3 separate regions of the Homo sapiens genome follow, and regions 1 and 3 are each linked to region 2. Evidence: promoter capture Hi-C in human tissues and cell types (Jung and others, 2019). All regions are on one chromosome and are shown on one strand. Each heading gives the region's core, a stretch centred on a gene start or on the middle of the fragment in contact. The rest is flanking DNA. Distances are from core to core; before and after follow the strand shown.

Region 1 (3,986 bases), core at 1,425-3,924, 34 kb after region 2:
CGAATCTGAGGTTAAACTAACGTTGGAAAGACAGATCCAGGTGTATTTCACCTTCCTTCTGATCCTGGATGGTGACATAACTGGTTCAGCCTTTAGGATAACTGTTCAACTTGGGTTGAACTTAGCCATGAGGCAAGAAAGTATGGAAATTTTAAATGTTCTAACTAGTTTATGCTCCATTTCACACTCAGTGATATTAAATGAGACATGAGAGATGAACAATGCAGTTGGTTCTTCATTAAACTGTTATAGCCTTTTCTATTTTAAGCTTTTATAGGCTTATATCTATTTGTAGATGTGCAGGTGAATACTTGCACATTTCCTCTGACATATGTGGAGAATAAACAAATACCCGTGATGGTAAAGATACATTTCTTCATTCTAAAGATATCAATTATCAATATGTAGATTCTGGATGGTATAAAACATTAATCCCTAGTTTGCCAACATTGGCTAGAACATTTTCTAAAGAAGCCTACCAGTTTAGGGGGATGTAGACAGTATTCCCCCCTTATTTACGGTTTTGCTTTCTGTGGTTTCAGTTACCCACAGCCAACTGAGGTCTGAAAATATTAAATAAAAAATTCCAGAAGTAAACAATTCATATTCTTTAAATTGAGTAGCATTCTGAGCAGCACGATGAAATCCCATGCTGTCCTGCTCCATCCTGCGTGATACATGAATTATTTCTTTGCCTCAGAATATCCACCCTGTAGGCAGTAACCTGTCCATTAGCCGCTTAGTAGTTGTTCCTGTTATCAGATTGACTTAGTGGTATCGCAGTGCTTGTGTTCAAGTAACCCTTATTTTACTTGTAATAACTTGAAAGTGCAAGAGTCGTGATGCTGGAATATTGTTTTACTATTGTTGTCGTTATTCTCTCACTATGCCTAATTATGAATTAAGCTTTACTATAGGTATGTATGTATAGGAACAAACATTAGTATATATAGAGTTTGGTACTATCCAGCATTTTTGGTATCACTGCAGGAGGTGGTCTTGGAAGGTATCTGCTGAAGATAATAGAATACAATTTTATCTTAACAATACAAATTCTCACATAAACCAAAGGAGTCTAGGGAAAATAAGCCATATTTTAAAAAAATACTTAACTAAAAGATCTATTCCTCTAAGCTGCTTATCTGCATTAGTAACACAGGGGCACCAAACTGGAGATAGTAACTTTCTGAAAGAAAGTATGTTTTGAGGACCCTTGGAAAATAAAAAAAATACATGTTTTGGGAAGAAAAATCCTGCCAAACAGCCAAAACAATATAGTATAATGAGACAATTATATTATTGACCAAGTTTACATAAAATTTGATTCTTTACAACCACCACCACCATAGAAAGAAAAGCTTACATTGGACACTACATTTAATTATGAAATATAGAAAAGATTCAAGTAGAGATTGTTTTAATGATGACTAACATTGTAATTTTAATGAAGAGAGTTTCTCTTGACTTAGAGCTTTCTTACTACTCTTTATTCTAGTGTGTCTTAAGCTATTACATTGGCAAAAAAATTATAAGAAAATAGGATTTGATGTAGTTTGATTGCGTGTCATGGCCCAAATCTCATGTTGAAATATAATCACCAATGTTGGAGGTAGGTCCTGGTGGGAGTTGGTTGGATCATGGGGGCAAATTTCTCATGAATGGCTTAGCACCTTCCCCTGGGTGCTGTCCTTGCGATAGTGAGAGAATTCTCTCAAGATCTGGTTATTTAAAAGCATGTGGAACCCTCTGTCTCGCTCTTGTCCCTGCTTTCACCATGTAACGTACCTGCTCTCCCTTTGCCTTCCTGCCTGATCATAGTTTTCTGAGACCTCCTCAGCAGCAGATGCCACTATGCTTCCTGTACAGCCTGCAGAACCTTAAGCCAATTAAAAACCTCTTTTCTTTATAAATTACCCAGTGTGGGTATTTTTAGCAATGGAATAATAGGCTTATATAGATTTAATATATAACCAATCAATATAAAAATCTCAGTGAATTCACACTACCGAAAACTTACTTATTCTACATACATGGATTACCCTTTCCTTAGAGCTTCCTAAAATTAGATTAATGAAGGTAAGTAGAATCTGCTCTAATGATTCCACTCTACTTAGGAAATATGGGGAAAAAAACCATAAGAGGATTATTTACTCTTTGTTATTTTCAACCATCATTAAATCTCCTTCATATTGATGGGAGTAATAATTTAATAATAAATGCTATGAAATAAGCAGTAAAAACTGATTACTGTGTAATGAACAAAAGTATATTTGTCAAATCCAGTAGTCCCTTTTTAGTTTTAATCTTAAAAATTTTAGTCGTTAATTAATTCTGATAACAATCTTTTTTTTTCTACCATTCTTTTTCTTCTTTTCTTCCATATTACTCCTTCTCTTATTTCCTTGCCTGCTTCTCTTGAAGCTTATTTTCTGTAAGTACAAATACTCCACCAGTTTAGGTTCCATCTTTGGCTTTTAAAATTCATCTATCTAGGCAAGGCACAGTGGCTCACTGCTGTAATCCCAGCACTTTGGTAGGCTGAGGCGGGCAGATCACTTGAGGTCAGGAGTTGAAGACCAACCTGGTCAACATGGTGAAATCCCATCTCTACAACAAAACAAAACAAACAACAACAACAACAACAAAATTAGCCAGATGTGGTGACGCAGGCCTGAAATCCTAGCTACTTGGGAGACTGAGACACGACAGTCGTTTGAACCTGGGAGGTGGAGGTGGCAGTGTGCAGAGATCGCGCCACTGCACTTCAGCCTGGGTGGCAGAGTGAAACTCTGTCTTAAAAAAAAAAAAATCTATCTATCTATCTATCTTTTGCCATTGAAATCCTATTTTGCCACTTAACCACATTTTTTTTCTTCTTTCAGAACTTTATTTTTTCTTATTTTTTTTTTTCACTTCAAGTTCCGGGATACATGTGCAGAACGTGCAGGTTTGTTATACAGGTATATGTGTGCCTTGGTGGTTTGCTGCACTTATTGACCTATCGTCTAAGTTTCTTGCCCTCACCCTCCACCCCCAACAGGCCTGGTATATGTTGTTTCCCTCCCTGTGTCCAAGTGTTCTCATTGTTCAACTCCCACTTATGAGTGAGAACATGCGGTGTTTGGTTTTCTGTTCCTGTGTTAGTTTGCTGAGAATGATGGCTTCCAGCTTCATTCATGACCCTGCAAAGCACATGATCTCATTCCTTTTAATGGCTGCATAGTATTCCATGGTGTATATGTACCACATTTTCTTTATCCAGTGTATCATTTATGGGCATTTTTGTTGGTTTCATGGCTTTGCTATTGTAAATAGTGCTGCAATAAACATATATGTGTATGTGTCTTTATAGTAGAATGATTCATATTTCTTTGGGTATATACCCAGTAACAGGATTGCTGGGTCTAATGGTATTTCTGTTTCTAGATCCTTGAGGAATCACCACACTGTTTTTCACAATGGTTGAACTAATTTACGTTTCCATCAACACTGTAAAAGCATTCCTATTTCTCCACAGCCTCACCAGCATCTATGTTCTTGAATTTTTAATAATTGCCATCTTGAATTTTTAATAATGGCATGAGATGGTATCTCATTGTGATTTTGATTTGCATTGCTCTAATGATCAGTGACGTTGTGGTTATTTTCATATGTTTGTTGGCCATGTAAATGTCTTCTTTTGAGAAGTGTCTATTCACACCCTTTGCCCACTTTTTGAAGGGGTTGTTTGTTTTTGTAAATTTGTTTCAGTTGCTTGTAAATTCTGGATATTAGACCTTTGTCCGATGGGTAGATTGCAAAATTTTTCTCCCATTCTGTAGATTGCCTGTTCACTCTGATGGTCGTTTCTTTTGCTATGCAGAAGCTCTTTAGTTTAATTAGATCCCATATGTCAATTTCGGTTTCTGTTGCAATTGCTTTTTGCATTTTCATCATGAATTCTTTGCCCATGCCTATATCCTGAATGGTGTTGGCTAGGTTTTCTT
Region 2 (4,023 bases), core at 509-3,008:
AAAATGTTTCACTGTAGAGAGACTGGGTGTCCCCCTGTCCTCAGCGATTACAGTCAAACTATACTCAGATCTCTTTTCTCTATCCAGTGTGGCATTAGTTAAGATTAAATAATTGTTTTCATATGTCTTCTGAAGTTTAAAGTGACCATGTCCATGAAGCTTACAAACTATTTCTCCATTCAGCCCAGAATCCTTGTCCTGAACTCTGACCAAAGCAACAAATGTATCAATAGGATCCCCTTCAAAAATATAAGATATTTCTTCTTTTCCAGGGGACATGAGGTTGATGTTAATTTCAGGTTTATTGTCATTAACATCCACAACCTTAATTATAATTTTGCAATGGGCTGGGATTGAATTTGGACCCAAATCTTGAGCCTGAACATCAATCTCATAGGATTTGGTGATTTCATAATCCACTTGCTTGAAAAGAGTCAAATGTCCTCTTTCAGAATCAATTTTAAAAGTCTCCATAATTTTGGGAGACACATGACTGCTGAAGGAATATACAATTTTCCCATTAGCGCCCTCATCTGGATCCGTGGCATTCAGATCTAAGAGCAAAGTGCCAACCGGGGAGTTTTCTAAGAGTTGTATTATATAAGATTGCTGCTCAAAAGCAGGGCTGTTGTCATTGGAGTCTGAAATGCTTATTTTTAGTATGGATGAGCCAGACCTCTGAGGTACTCCCATGTCTGAGGCAGTGAGCTGAAGCTCGTAGCTTGACTTCAGCTCCCGATCTAACTCTCTGACCACTATGAGTTCTGCATACTTGGCTCCATCAGTCCTGGTCCGAACCTCGATATTAAAAAAATCATTGGCAGAGAGCGAGTATGTGTGGAGGGAATTTTCCCCAACATCTGGATCAAATGCACTGTCCAGGGGAATGCGAGTCCCAACTGCTGCACTCTCAGATATCTCAATAGGTATGAGAGATCTTGAAAACTGGGGAGAATTGTCATTAATATCCAGCACTTCAACTTCAATATGGAAAAGCTGCAGATGCTCTGTGGGTAGAGTGATCACATCAAACTCTATGGAACAGTTCAAGTTTTTCTGGCACAGTTGTTCACGGTCAATTGTAGCCCCTATGCTGATTTCCCCATTATCCTCGTTTACTACAAGTAGAGGAGAATTTCCCCTCTGCATGGCTCGAAATCGAACAGTAGAAGGATTAGGAAGCTTCAATAAAACATCAGCCACATCCTCTGATAGTCTTGCAATTACTGATCCAACCCTCTGTTCCTCATAAATCCTGTATTTCAAATTCTTGCCCAGTACATCGTGGTTGAAAGATACTATCAGAAGTGCAAAAACAAACCTAAAGTGCATTTTAGCATTCATTTGGTGCATTGGTCAGTTTATGAGATTTCCCTCACAGAGCAAGTTAAAACAGCAAAGCAATTGCCTCAACTTCCTTTGGCAACGTAAAGCTACATTTGGTACTTGAAACTTGAAAGCGTCTCTTAATAACACAGCACAGCAATTAACAGCTCGCAAACTTTTGTTTTATACACACCGTGTCACGACTTCCAGATACCTTCGGCATGGAGTCCAGTCCTTGCGTTTGTTTGGTCGTTCGTCCTCTTTCCAGGCAGGAGAGTGTCACCTCCGCGTTTTCTCCCTTGTGTAGTCGGAATCCATCTATTGCAGGGTGCCGGTGGAGTCTGCAGTGTGTCTTTCCTGAGCGATTCTTTCTCCCTTTAGCTGCTCGGCTGCAGACTAAACACCCGTGATTGCTGACTCCAGTCTAAAATCTGTACAACTTCACTTCAACTCAGACAAAGCTCTTGCCCAGCGTGTGTTGAATCGCTTCCAGCCAATCAGCGTGCTTCCAAATCAAAAGCTGATGGAGTCACCCAAGGAGGGAGGGCGAGAGTGGAGGGTGGGAGAGAGAAAGAGACGGAGAAGGAGGAAGGCGGGGGTGGGTGCGCGAGGGAGAGAAGGGGAGATGGGCTGGTGGGGGCTGGGGGAGGAGATGGGAGCCAGTCCTTCCCTGTTCCTTCCTTCTTCCTCCCCACTCCCCCTCCGCCTTTCAATCTACTGCATTCACTTTCTCTGAGCGTGCCATGACAAAGGGGAGACAAATTACAGAAGAAAAACTTTAAATCAACTTCTGGTCGCCTTTATTTATATGGCACGTTAAATTCTTCTTGTTTTCTTAATTGCCCTTTCTTCTGCCACAGACATGTAATCATCTTGCTTTTCATAGTCCTTAAGTGCTAGTTTAACTTAAAATACCTCTAAGTGCGTTTTGTTGGTGGAGGAATTTAATACAATTTGAAAACTTGCTTCTAATTATGCTTCTCAGACCACCTCCTTCCCCACTCCCTCTGTAAATACTTGGGCCTTTCTCCTTCCAGGAGCACAAGCAGATTTTCTTGGGGCTCTGTTTTTAAAGAACGGAGCAAGTAAAGAGGTTTCATTTTCTGTTTTCTTTCATCTTTATTCTTTGAAGATAAAAAAAGGGCTATCTTGCACTCTTCATTTCTCTTAATTAGCAAGACTTAAGGGAACACCTCAGAATTTGGAACTAATTAACAATATAGTTCTACCTTGTATGATTTCTTTCCTTGAGTTTGGGCAAAATTGTTTGTAATATTTCTTTGTCCTGTACTTCAAAAAAATCCTATTTATCTTGGGTAAAAGACACTGCAAGCTTTAGCATGCCAATTTCTACCAAAAGGCACTATCTATACATGGCTAGTCTTTGCAGTGAATACAGGGGGGACATGGACTCAATAGTTTACAAGTCAAATTTTTATAATATATGCATTATTTATGAAAACACTTCAGATATGTATTTTAAAAACCCCAAAGGTTGTTTACACTGACAAATCAAATGCCTGAGCTGAAAATTGCATTTTGTATGCATCAAAATGCTAGGAAATATCATGGGAGGCTTGTGCTCTATCCAGGTCACAGAAACTGATACGGTATTCTTATTTGAAAATATGATTATTTATGATGTTCTTTCTGCTCTGCAATTCCTTTTAAGTTTATCATCGTGGCTCCATTTTTGCTGCTTTTTTTCATACCTTTTTCCTTATTCCTCAGCTGTCTTCATCCGCTTGCATATTTGCTGTTTCACAGAATGTCATTGTCACTTTTTTCCATTTATTTTTTCTCACTGTCTATTTTGCCCCCCAGAAACATATAAAAAAAGTAATTTTCTGATTTTTCCACTTTGCTTACTCTCAGCAGAGCTCAGCTAAAGTCACTAAGAAGGCTCTTTCCAAAAAAGAAAGCAGAGGAGTCTCAGCGTGAATTCTCCTTCTTTTTAGGCATTCAAAAGCATTTTATAAGCCATTGTCTTTTTTTCCCCCTCCTGAAATCAGTGCTGTGTGGCAAATTGTGCAGAATAGAAATGCCTATAATGAATGTATTTAGTACTGGGTCACGCTGATGAACATTCTGCCCCCATGAATAATACTGTTTTACAAGTTTGTAGCCCTTTCAAATTGCTGATCCCCAAACCCTATAGGCAAACTAGGAAAACTACCACAAGCAAGGGGGACTTTAGAAACCCATAGCCATCTGGCCTAGATCTCTAACAATCTGAGCCAATAATTATATCAATTCAGGCTTTAGCGAACCCCTTTGCAAACACCAAAAGAGCAAAGAAAGGAATTAGTGACTATTCAAAGTTGGGGTGAGAATTCAAAGGTAACCTAATTCCATTAGTTCTAGGAAAATTTTCTTTCAGAATTTGATAAGTCTACCCCCCAAAAAACTTCAAGAGCAATCGATTTGATTACCTTGATACGGATTTTTTTTATGCTTAAAAAGTAAAAATAATAAAAAGCTCTTTTATTTCTGACAGTGGGCTTGAACAGAAATAATCATTGTGAAAAAGAGCTTCACTGTAACTTACTGAAATATTAAATAACTTGTAAAATAATATATCCTCCAAAATGATATGTTTCTATGAGTAAGTATTTAAAGAACTTGGCATTCTTTCACCAACAGTGGCTTTTTTCACTTGCAATATCATCCTTACCACATATTATTTCCTTTTCAGCT
Region 3 (3,521 bases), core at 224-2,723, 63 kb before region 2:
CATTAGAATACAGAAAAAAACTTTCAGGGGTCTCATGAAGACCTGAAATGTTCATGACTATCAAGTAGAACAGGAATTAATTACATGGACTGAACTAATAGGAGACTGAAGTAATCTTTTTGACTTTTTTCTTAAAACAGTGCTGATCCCTTGTTTTGTTTTTCTGAGTTGAGGAAACTTTTTAGTTATTTACAGCTTGTAACAATTGAGTAAAGTATACTCCTGTGAACAAAGTTTGGAGCATATTTATTTCTCTCTACCTGATTTCTCCAGAATTTGGAAACTATTTGTGAGTATTCTCAATTTATGGCATAGTTATTTGCATAAGAGCAATAAGAATTTTTTTTTCTTTGCACAAGACACAATTGGAGAAATTGCTTATTTTGCCAAAGTTTGAGGGGAATGGTATGCTTTCTTTTAAGGAATCAAACTTGACAAAGCCAATTAAAGCCTCTTGGGAAAACTAGCCTCATACCTTGTCTACCTAGTCCCTGTACAGAATTCCTGTACAGGGTTTCTGACCTGTAGTAAATAAAGAATGTCACTTTTTGACAGGCCCGGGAGCCCCAAGTTATCTTGGGACCTCAAGAGGAGAGGAGTTTACTCAACTCATATGTATTTGAAGGTACAGACCTATGGCAGGGCTTGGCTTTAAAAAAGTCTTATTTGAGATTCCTTCTATGGAACAGTTTCATCAAAGCCAATTCTTTAAAAAGCTTATGTGAAAAATAATTATTCTTGCTTCACTTTATACAAATAATCAGGCCAATTATAATAAAGCAAATTGGTCTTACCATGATTTGTCTTTAGTAAAAATGGGAGGCTGGAGAGAGAAATTATGTTTCAAAAACTATGGTACACTTACTATTAGATTCTCGTCTCATTTGTTGTTTTTGTGTTTGTTTCTGAAATTTAGGCTAATCACTGGTTGGTTCAACGGAATATGCAATTTAATAACCTTGTTTATTCCAGTGAACCAACCAGTGATCTCTGACTGCAGCTCAGAAGAAACAAGAGAAATGGGTAATGTAAAACTCTAGATCAATATTCTAATTCTGAACACATATTGGAATCAGCCAGCAACCCTACATCAGCTTGTTTCCAACAACTGCCCAGTTCTTAGAAAGCCTTCCTGTTTAGTTTGCTTGGAATGATTTTACTTATTTTACTTTCACTGTGATTGTACTCTTTGTATAGAAATGCAAGATAAGCTTACTCAGTGCTTTCTTAAATTGGACACTTATTAATCTTCCAGATATCACCTTTTGTTGGAACTAGAAGTTATGAACAACCCTCACCATACCAACACTTTCTGACTGTGCTCCTCTCTACCCTGAATGGAAGAGACCCAATAGTTAGGCAGGAATATCATTGCCCCTATTCAGCCTTAAGAAGCTACAGAAGACAGATCTTCATTGGTCTGCAATGCTTAGGATTAACAGCCCTCCTGTAAAGGGAGGAGGGAAATACGTCAGAGGCATTTGAACCAGAGCAACTCCATCCTGAGTGAGGGCTAGGAAAATGAGGCTGGGACTTGCTGGGTTGCATTCCCAGTAAGTTAGGTATTCCTAGCCTCTAGATGTTTACGGTTAAGGAAACAGATTGATACTGTTTGCTAAACAGACCCAACTTAGGAGTGTTCTAATATCCCGATATCTTGAGATCAGAATATTCCTAATTTTGCTTTAAAGATAATAATATAGATCCTTGCAAAATAGAGTAATTAAGAAAATTAATACCTTACCACAAGCCCTGTGGCAGAACATATCACCCCATGATTTTTTTATCCTATATATAAACAAGTATCAGACCTAGGGTGGATGCCTTCCTCCTCTTTCTTTCAGGAATGCCCTACTCTGTCTATGGAGTAGCTGTTCTTTCACTACTTTACTTTCTTAATAAACTTGGTTTTGCTTTGCACTGAGGACTCTCCCTGAATTTTTTATCATGTGAGATCCTAGAATCCTCTCTTGGGGTCTGGATCAGGACCCCTTTCTGGTAACACTATGATGAAATGGATAAAGTTAAATCAAACTGATATTTATGTTTTTTCTTTTCTGAGAAATTCAGTCCATAAAAGGTTTTATGTCACTTTCACTTTGTTCTATTGTTTGGTTTCTGAAGGTATTACTTTCTGAAAAGAAATCCCTAATCTCTTATGGATAGAGAATATAACTTATTCTTTTACCCTATGAATTAATATTTAATTAAATTAGAAACTATGAGTTTGAATATTAATTTCCTTGTTTTTAGAATTTCTTCACAAAATCAGAGTGTTCTCCTATTTTAATGCTCCAAAGGAAATTATGCTCCAAATCATAAATGAATTCAACCATTCTTTTGAAAACATCTTAATATCTGCACTCTATTTCTTCCATTTTGAATATATTCTCATAGCTAGTAGTCTTGCTGTGGACAAGGAATAGGTATTAGAATTTGTGAGCAAATAAAGATATGCAGAACCATGGGTTCCTACTTTAAACTATCTTGAGCTTGTAGAATCTATATCATGTCAGGTGATAAAGAATAAACTGTTAACGTAGAAAGGAAACAAGAAAAACTGAGGGAATTAACCTAATCAGTTATACATTTTAGTGCCTTGAGGAACTAAACTGTTTCATTCTTCATGAACCAAATGATATCTGCAAAAATGTTGTTCTTTCTTTGTTCCCTTTTGGTCTTATGATATTTCTCCTCATTGGCTTTTCAAGTCTTGCAAAAATTGGTGCTGTTGTTGTTGTTCCAAAATAGTTGCTGGCACATGCTATGTGGCAGACATTAAACTCAAACTAACACATCCTTACTGATTAGTTTCTAGTTTATGGTTGCTGAGGACTGAGCAGAGCTCTTCCAAAGCTTAATTTATAAAGCACTGAAAACTATAAGCGAGGGCATATTAAAATCTGTTCATATAAAAGTAAACTAACATTTGTGCCATATATCATAGGTGTAGAACCTGTATGATTAGAAATAGAACATCCAAACATCAACTGAATTATCCATTACTAATAAATAGTAAAATTGTGAGTAAAATATTAAAAATCCATATGTGTACAAATAGGAAAGCAACAAAGAACAAAGTATTCTACTTTATTATTTAGAAAAAGATAATGAAAGGAGAGCAATACCTGTATCAATAGTTAAAATAATACTTAAGATAAATGTCTCAATTTTCTCTTTCACATCGTTCTTTTCCCTACATCCTTTAATTATGAATTTCTTAATTAAGAATTTTATTTTAGTAGGTAAGATATATTCTTTGATTTATTAATTTTTTTCAGCAACTATTGCCTGAACATGTTCAATTTGTCAGATCCTCTACTAGGCTCTGGAAGTGCAACAGTGAACAAAAACAAACATCCCTTATATGTACATGGTACTTTCAGTAAGGTTGTAAAGAAAGAACCAAATCAAATTATCTCTGAAATAAAGCCCACATTGTCCTTTTGCAAATACTGTAGGGGAAAGGTACATGTGGGGTTATAATGTTACCAAAGGGGTCAGGAAATGCTGACTCAACC

Evidence for each region. Contacts are between HindIII fragments. The study calls those that stand out against the background at their distance.
Region 1: a fragment that was not itself captured here is called in contact with the fragment with the promoter of PCDH18 in region 2 in 2 of the 25 tissues and cell types used here (mesenchymal stem cells and pancreas).
Region 3: a contact is called between a fragment that was not itself captured here and the fragment with the promoter of PCDH18 in region 2, in 2 of the 25 tissues and cell types used here (mesendoderm cells and thymus).

Annotation. Positions count from the first base shown.
Region 1 is chr4:137,564,244-137,568,229 of GRCh38, forward strand. All of the region lies in intron 1 of LINC02172 (long intergenic non-protein coding RNA 2172), which reads left to right. Among named protein-coding and RNA genes, the nearest start is that of LINC02172, 21 kb to the left of the region's middle. The HindIII fragment of the contact is 4,174 bases long and covers 588-3,986 here.
Region 2 is chr4:137,530,736-137,534,758 of GRCh38, forward strand. PCDH18 (protocadherin 18) reads right to left here and starts at 1,759. Exons shown (of 4, transcript NM_019035.5): 1 at 1-1,759. The coding sequence starts at 1,353. RefSeq lists an enhancer at 1,668-1,787. The HindIII fragment of the contact is 2,929 bases long and covers 671-3,599 here.
Region 3 is chr4:137,467,528-137,471,048 of GRCh38, forward strand. No RefSeq gene overlaps it. Among named protein-coding and RNA genes, the nearest start is that of PCDH18, 63 kb to the right of the region's middle. The HindIII fragment of the contact is 4,226 bases long and covers 1-3,521 here.